Regions from separate parts of the Homo sapiens genome. Here region 2 is linked to region 1. The links are contacts of gene promoters, found by promoter capture Hi-C in human tissues and cell types (Jung and others, 2019). All regions are on one chromosome and are shown on one strand. Each heading gives the region's core, a stretch centred on a gene start or on the middle of the fragment in contact. The rest is flanking DNA. Distances are from core to core; before and after follow the strand shown. Region 1 holds the start of SCGB1D1 (secretoglobin family 1D member 1). Region 2 overlaps FADS3 (fatty acid desaturase 3).

What was found. The method cuts DNA at HindIII sites, captures the fragments that hold promoters and counts their contacts. A contact is called where the count stands out against the background at its distance.
Region 2: a fragment that was not itself captured here is called in contact with the fragment with the promoter of SCGB1D1 in region 1 in 1 of the 25 tissues and cell types used here (lymphoblastoid cells).

What each region holds. Positions count from the first base shown.
Region 1 is chr11:62,187,718-62,191,753 of GRCh38, forward strand. SCGB1D1 (secretoglobin family 1D member 1) reads left to right here and starts at 2,499. Exons shown (of 3, transcript NM_006552.2): 1 at 2,499-2,622. The coding sequence starts at 2,568. The HindIII fragment of the contact is 12,490 bases long and covers 1-3,909 here.
Region 2 is chr11:61,881,472-61,885,237 of GRCh38, forward strand. All of the region lies in intron 1 of FADS3 (fatty acid desaturase 3), which reads right to left. Among named protein-coding and RNA genes, the nearest start is that of MIR6746, 5.1 kb to the left of the region's middle. The HindIII fragment of the contact is 4,427 bases long and covers 1-3,766 here.

The DNA of each region.
Region 1 (4,036 bases), core at 1,249-3,748:
CTCAGAGACCATGAGCTGGGTTTCCTCCATTTATTTCAGATAGTGGGGGTGTATCCAGGTTTCCTTAGACAGTTGTGTGTCACTTAGTGACTGGGACACATTCTGAGAAATGCATAGGCAATTGTCATTGTGTGAACATCATAAAATGCAGTTATACAAACCTAGATGGCATAGCCTACTGCACACCTCAGCTATTAATAGGTAAGCCTGTTGCTCCTGGACCACAAACCTGTACAGCATATTACTGTTCTGAACACTGTAGGCAGTTGTAATACAATGACAAGTATTTGTGTATCTAAACATATCAAAACAGAAAAGGTGCAGTAAAAACACAGTATTATAATTTTAGGGGACCCCTGTTGTATGTGGGGTCTGATATTAACTAATATGTCCTTATGTGGCCCATGAATTGTAGTTCTGAAAATCAGTGATTTTTTTTTTTGAGGGGTTGGCTGTGCTTTAAACTAGGAACTGGTAATGATCCATGAAATGTATGACAGGTGGGACAAGGTAATAGTAGTCAACATTTATTGAGCGTTTACTACATGTCAGACCTTGTTAATTTTTTTTTCTTTTTTGAGATGGAGTTTTGCTCTTGTTGCCCAGGCTGGAGTGCAGTGGTGCCATCTCAGCTCACCACAACTCTGCCTCCCTTGTTCAAGAGATTCTCCTGCCTCAGTCTCCTGAGTAGCTGGGACTATAGGCACATGCCACCACACCCAGCTAATTTTTTGTATTTTTAGTAGAGACGGGGTTTCACCATGTTGGCCAGACTGGTCTCAACCTCCTGACCTCAGGTGATCCACCCGCCTCGGCCTCCCAAAGTGCTGGGATTATAAGTGTGAGCCACTGCGCCTGGCCAGACCTGGTAAATTTTACACACACACACACACACACACACTCATTTGAACATCTATCAACCCAATGATGTAGGCACCATTTTTAACCTACTTTTACAAACGAGAAAACTGTGTTTACATAAACTAATTTTCAGAGGGTTCAATAGCCCATAGACATGGATCTGAACCCTCCTAGCCATGGGCTTTGCCACTGGACCTTCCACTCCTTAGGGTTGGAGGCAGAGGTGGCATCAGGGGCTTCCCCACCATTTTGGGTGATGGAAGTGAGAGGCATTGTCGCCCTCAGCTGGGACTCAGCCAGACCTGCCAAGGTGTCTCTGATGACACAGACCATAAGGTCCGCTTCCTTCATAAAGGTCTTTCTGGGTGGTTCTCAGTACTGCTGCCCATCAGACCCACCAGAGCAGTTTAAACAGAAGAGGACCTCGCCCTAGAACTACTGAATCAAAATCCCCAGAAAGGGAAGCAGCCTGCGGGGAGTCAGTATAGTTTAAGAGCCCCAAGTGATTTGATTGCAGAGCAGAGAATGGAAAGCTCTGGCCTGGGCTGTGACTGTTCTCAAATGTGTGTTCACTTAAGAGCCAAATTTCTGGTGATTTCCTACTCACCAAATGATGGCACTGCAGTGGAAGGGCAGAAGGGTGTCTATTGCTTTTGCTGGGGATGGCCTTCGCTTTCCATCAACAATGAGATGACCCAGGCAGCAGAGCTGGGTTAGAAGTGGAAAACTTGAGCCCAGAGGTTAGAGGGAAGTGACCACCCACCCTGTTCATCCATCTCTTCCTTTCCATTATCGTCCCTGCCTAGAAGCGAAGACCAGTATTTCTGATGCCTGTTTGCCTCCAGACACCCCAGCAGCTCCTTGGGTAAAAAAAGTTGGGCAATTTAATCATCCCATCAGCCCTATGAGGAGATATGGGTGGCTAGAGGTCACTGGAGGCTTGCTTTTAGTAGACAGAAAATTTGAACCTGTGCTATGTTGACAACTCCACCCATAAATAAAGACACAGATCTTGGAGTGAGACAGAGTAGAGGACAGGGGGAGTGGTTGTTTTCCCCAAGGAAATCCTCCAAAGGTGGGGTGTATGCAGCTATGTTTTAGGTACCTATGTGGTGAAGATGGTGGGGATGGAAGGGGCTGAGTGGGAGGATAGGTCTGGTTCAGACTTGATCTATGTGCAGCTGAAACACGTGTGGCTGATTGTCAGACATGCAGTGGAGGTCAAAGTGGGGTCTCTTCTGTGCCTGCTCTCCTATAACCAAACCACAGCCCCTAGCTTCCTGCACCCCCGGTTTCTGTCCTCCTGAAATGAGAACTCACATTTGCCCTTGCACTGACATAAAGAACAGAGAGATAATCCTCAAAAGCCCAAAAGCAAACTGAGGTTCCAGGGAACATTGCCAGAGGCACCTGGACACTCACCTGGAGCACAGAGCAGAGTTTCTGCAGGGCTGCCCTCCCGTGCTCCGCCCCACTCAGGATGCAGGGAGGTGTGGGGATGTGACACTGATGGATGGCAGCAGCCCTGGCTAGGAAGGGAGGGCTGGAAGCCAGGCCTCATCACCTGCCAGATGCCCATGTGGGCAGGACCAGCCAGGCTCCCTAGGTACAAATAGCCCTGGGCTCCACGGCTCCACAGGCTCCCGGGGCTGAGTCTAAATCACTCATCATTGGTTAAAGCCGAGCTCACAGCAGAATAAGCCACCATGAGGCTGTCGGTGTGTCTCCTGCTGCTCACGCTGGCCCTTTGCTGCTACCGGGGTGAGTACATCAGTCATGAGTCCAGCACCAGCCCTTGGGACACACCCTTCTCTGAGCACGAGGTCACCTATTAAGGTTAAGGTTGGGGTCTGGAACAAACCAAAATTCCAAACCTTATCCTGTGCTTGTTGAAGGAACTGCTCATAAAGCTCGGGCCTCATTTCATCAAATCCCCAGTACCTAGGAAGTTTTGCAGAAAATCAATGCAGGCGAACGTTAGGAATTCTGCCTGAGCTTCACTCTTGGATGGGATCTGTGTCAGATGATGTAATGTGAGGTCTGGGGTGACTCTGGGCTCAGCCACTTCTCAGCCCTTTCACCGTGGGCAAGATGCTCACCCTCCCCGCGCCTCCTCCTATCTCTGGTGCTTAGAGCTTCTTCCGGGAGTGGCAATGGGAATGGAGTGGGATTATTGTGCCAAGGGTCTAGCTGTGGATGTGAAGCCAATCACTGTACTGTCAGACATTCTCGTCCCCAGACCTTTAGGTGCCAATTGAGCTCACAGCTTCTTACATTGTAAATTCAGACTCATAAAATGTTACATCTCGAAGGATCCTTGGAGAACTCTCAGTCCAAGAAGAGATGGTGCTTTCTGATTCTCTCAATAAGAAGCCTGCAAATGAATTCTTAGAATAAGCAGCACTCAATATATCTTCTAGGGGTCCTACCGTAATGGTGGTAGAAATACTACAATGGTTAGCCTCAGAACTTCTATTTTTCTAAAATTAATTCTGGCTGATTTTTCCCCAGTTCATTTGGGTACTTTCCTTTCCCCTGTCAGGACCGATCCAGACTCTGATTTTTCTCTTTCCTCTTCTTTTCTGAACCTCTCCCTGTTTCCCTGTGACACCCCGATCCTACCCTCTCCAAATTCTCCCCACAGTTTGAAGTCGGGTAGTCAGGGGTCATGTTGAGCATGGTGGGGCGCTTTCTGGATGCATGGTGTTTGCAAAAGACTTAGGTGAATGGAGATTCCAGACCAAGCAAAATGATTACTCCAGGTCTTTCCAAAATTCCCAGTGGGAGCAGGAATGAGCCTCAGTTCCCTCCTCTCATCCTCTCCAAATATTCTAGATGCTGCTGCAGAATATGGGCCAAGTACAATTTCCTGTATAAGCTTCTAATGTGTGTTAAAACTGATTCACATTATTTTATTTTGTTTTAATTTGTTTACCTTTTAGCTCTGTCTGTATTGAATCACATAAGCCTAAATTCTACAACTTGTTCTCAAAACATCACCTTCAACATTTCAATAATTTTAACTTCTTCTGTTCCAGATTTACTCATTTCTCTAATTTCTGATAGGATTCTGACTCTACCATTCCACTTCAAAATTTGATTACTCAAAGCCTCCTCTTCACCAATGTCCAAGACTAATAAAGTGTCACTTAACTGGCATAGAAAAGTGATTATT
Region 2 (3,766 bases), core at 419-2,918, 310 kb before region 1:
CTTTCTCTGAATGGGCTAGCCAGAGCCATACAGCAGCTTATAGAACCAGTAGCTGGGTGGTGTTGTCCCCATGGGTCTGGAGAAGGGAGGCCTCCCAGTTGCTAAAGGAAACACCTTTGAAGAAAGCTGACTGAGGACAGGGGCCTCCTATTGTCCTCTTGCTAATGAGCCTACCAGCTGGTGAGTCTTAAAACGGAAGTGACAGCGGGCCCTGAAGTCACTGCCAGGACATTCTCCTACCACCCTGGGGGAAGAAAGCACTTCAGGCCCCTCCAGCACCCACTAAGAGGTAACACCTACATGATCTACTAGGGGTCCCCTTGCCTGCTTTTATAGGCCCAGGGCAGCTTGGGGACTGGGGGGCTGGTAGGGTGCCCCTTCTGGAATAACCTGGGCTGACTTGGCTCACTCATTACAGAGGAGGGGGCTGTATAAGTGCAGATCTCACCCCCTCTGGACATGAGTCTTGAAGGAGGGGCAGCAAAACTGGTAGAAAAAAGGGCAGAGGGAAGGCTGGGGGTCCCCAGGAAGCTGTCTGGGCCCCCAGCTACCTGCAGAGCTGGGGCTGGTGTACAGGGGAGCTGGGAGGGAAGAAGACTCTTGGGGTTCTACTGACCCCACTGGGTGTTTTTTTTTTTTTTTTTTTTTTTTTTTTTTGAGATAGGGTCTTGCTGTATCGCCCAGGCTAGAGTGCAGTGGTGCAATCATGGCTCACTGCAGCCTCAACCTCCCGGGCTCAGGTGATCCTCCCACCTTAGCCTCTCTCGTAGCTGTTAGTACAGGTGTGCACCACCATGCCCAGCTAATTTTTTATTTTTATTTTTTGTAGAGATGAGGTTTGCCATGTTGCCCAGCTGGTCTTAAACTCCTGGGCTCAAGCAATCCACCCACCTCAGCCTCCCAAAGTGCTGGAATTACAGGAATGAGCCACCACGCCCAGCCCAGAAAAACACTGAAAAATTTTTTTGAGACAGGGCCTCACTCTGTCACCAGGCTGGAGTGCAGTGATGCAATCACAGCTCACTGCAGCCTTGAAATCCTGGTCGTAAGTGATCCTCCCACCTCAGCCTCCCCAGCAGCTAGGACTACAGGCACATGCCACCATGTCTCATTAACTTTTGAATTTTTTTGTAGAGTCAAGGTCTCACTATGTTGCCTAGGCATGTCTTAAATGCCTGACTTCAAGCGATCCTCCCACCTCAGCCTCCCAAAGTGTTGAGAGTACAGGTGTGAGCCACACCTGGCCTCTAATTTTTTTATTTATCTTTTATTTTTTGAGACAGAGTCTTGCTCTGTCGCCCAGACTGGGTTGCAGTGGCATGATCTCGGCTTACTGCAACCTCCACCTCCCAGGTTCAAGAGATTCTTGTGCCTTAGCCTACTGAGTAGGTGGGATTAGAGGTGCAAGCCACCACACCAGGCTAATTTTTGTATATTTCGTAGAGTCGGGGTTTCACCATATTGCCCAGGCTGGTGTTGAACTCCTGAGCTCAAGCAATCCTCCCGCCTTGGCCTCCCAAAGTGTTGGGATTACAGGCATAAGCCACCACGCCCAGCCAATTTTTTAAAAATTGTAGTAAAATATACATGAAATTTACCATTGTAAGCATTTTTAGGTGTCCAGCTCAGTGGTATTAAGTGCATGCACAGTGTTGTCCAACCATCACCATCATCCAGCTCCAGAACCTTTTCACCTTCCCCAACTGAAACTCTGTCCCCATTAAACACTAATTCTCCATTCTCTCCTCCCCCTGCCCCGGCAACCACCATGCTACCTTCTGTCCATACAGATCTGCCTCCTCCGGAAACCTCATCTGGGAGAAATCACATGTTTGTTCCTTTGCCTCTGGCTTGTTTCACTCAGCACAATGTCCTTAAGGTCCATCCATGTTGCAGCACGTGTCAGGATGTCCTACCTTTTTAAGGCTGAGCCAGCGTGATGGTGAGTCCCTCTTTCTCCTTTGAAACTCCCCAGACACACACGCACATGCAGACACACCCACCAGCCCACACCAGCAGGCATCACTCAGACACTCAGAAACATGCCCACAATCACGGCCCACATGAACACTCAGCCAAACACAGCCTTGCACACATGGTACGCAAAGATGCAGCTGGCACGCACAGACACACCCGGCGCAACGTGCAAGCTGTGGCTGCGGCCCCAGAATCTCCTCCCTCCCAGCCCTTCCCTCTATCACCCCATGTCAGTTCTGGGGCCACCTTATTGAGCTGAGGATCTTGGGTCCAGATTGGTCTCCTCGCCTCCTTTCCCGTTGGTCCTGATTCACCCAGGCCAGCCCTGTCGAGGCACTGACAGGGGAGGACAGAACCAAGCCTGCCCCAGGGCCTTCAAGCCAGATCTACCCCTTGCAATGATAAGGGGAAGTGTGAGCCCCCTCAGGGCTGTGTCAGAGAACCCCAAAGCCATTGACAGGGCTCCAGCTGGGGAAGGGACAGGTGGGGCTGTGACAGTTCCCTGGGAAGCAGGCTGGGCTCTCAGAGCTGGGTGGGCACCCTGGGGCTGTGCTTCTCATGCTATCAGGGAGTGCGAGTAGGGCAGGGGCCTGGACTCAGGCCGAAACCTGGAAGCAAACAGCCTTCTCTGGAACTGGCTGAGGTCATGTGACCTGGTCCTCTGTGGGCCTCTCCTTAAGGATGGGGGTGCCAGGCAGAAGCTAAGACTCAGAGAGGTTAAGCTACTTCTTCAAGGTCACACAGTTCCATTTGACCGAGGTTAGATCAGAGTCCAGGTCTCTTCTCACTCATAAGTGAGAGTTGAACAATGAGAACACATGGACACAGGGAAGGGAACATCACACACCGGGGCTTACTGGGCGGGTGAGGGGCAAGGGGAGGGAGAGCATTAGGACAAATGCCTAATGTATATGGAGCTTAAAACCTAGATGAGGGGTTGACGGGTGCAGCAAACCACCATGGCACATGTATACCTATGTAACAAACCTGCACATTCTGCACGTTTCCCGGAACTTAAAGTGAAGAAAACAAAAACAAAAGCGAAAAACTGTGCTTGTCGCCACTCCTGGAACAGAGGGGAAGCAGCAGTTCTCCTAGGTGGTGTGCGGGGGTCCTTGCCGTGAGGCCAGTCACTATCTCAAGAAGCCAAGGGCCCAGCTGCTGGGAGCCTGGGCTGGGGGGCAGGAAGGCGGTTCTTGGACCTCATCAGTGGAGCCTCAGGGAACTGTGGGAGGTCCCACCCTCACACACCCTAAGTGCACCCAGGAACATCCACCCAGGGGTACGTGCACAAAGCCCTGTCCCCCCAACCCCCACACGCACCCAAGCGAGTGGAAAGCGGCACTCGACGTCTCTCATCGGGTACCGGAGCAGAGCTGGGTGAAAGTGCTGGAATCAAAACGGCACCCCTAAACACAAGCTCCTGGAGGTAGCGACAGGCTCTGTTCACAGTGGCATCCTCAGAGGCCGGCACAGAGCAGCTGCTCAACAGCAGGTATGAACAAGTAGACAAGAGCCAACCCTCCACAGCCCCCAAAGCAGGGGCACGAACCATTTTGCTGGTGAGGAAATGAAGGCTCAGCGGGAAGGGACACCTGCCCAGGTCCCAGTTAGTAGTGGCAGAGCTGGGATTCGAACCCGGGCCCATCTTCTGTGATGTTCATGCTCTCTCAGGATACAGAGACAGCTCAGCCTGGCCTTGGTCCCTGGAAGCCTAGAGTGGCTCAGTTGGCCCCAAGATCCCACGCCCTGCCCAAGCCCCACCGTGAATCCCACACAGCAGCTGGTC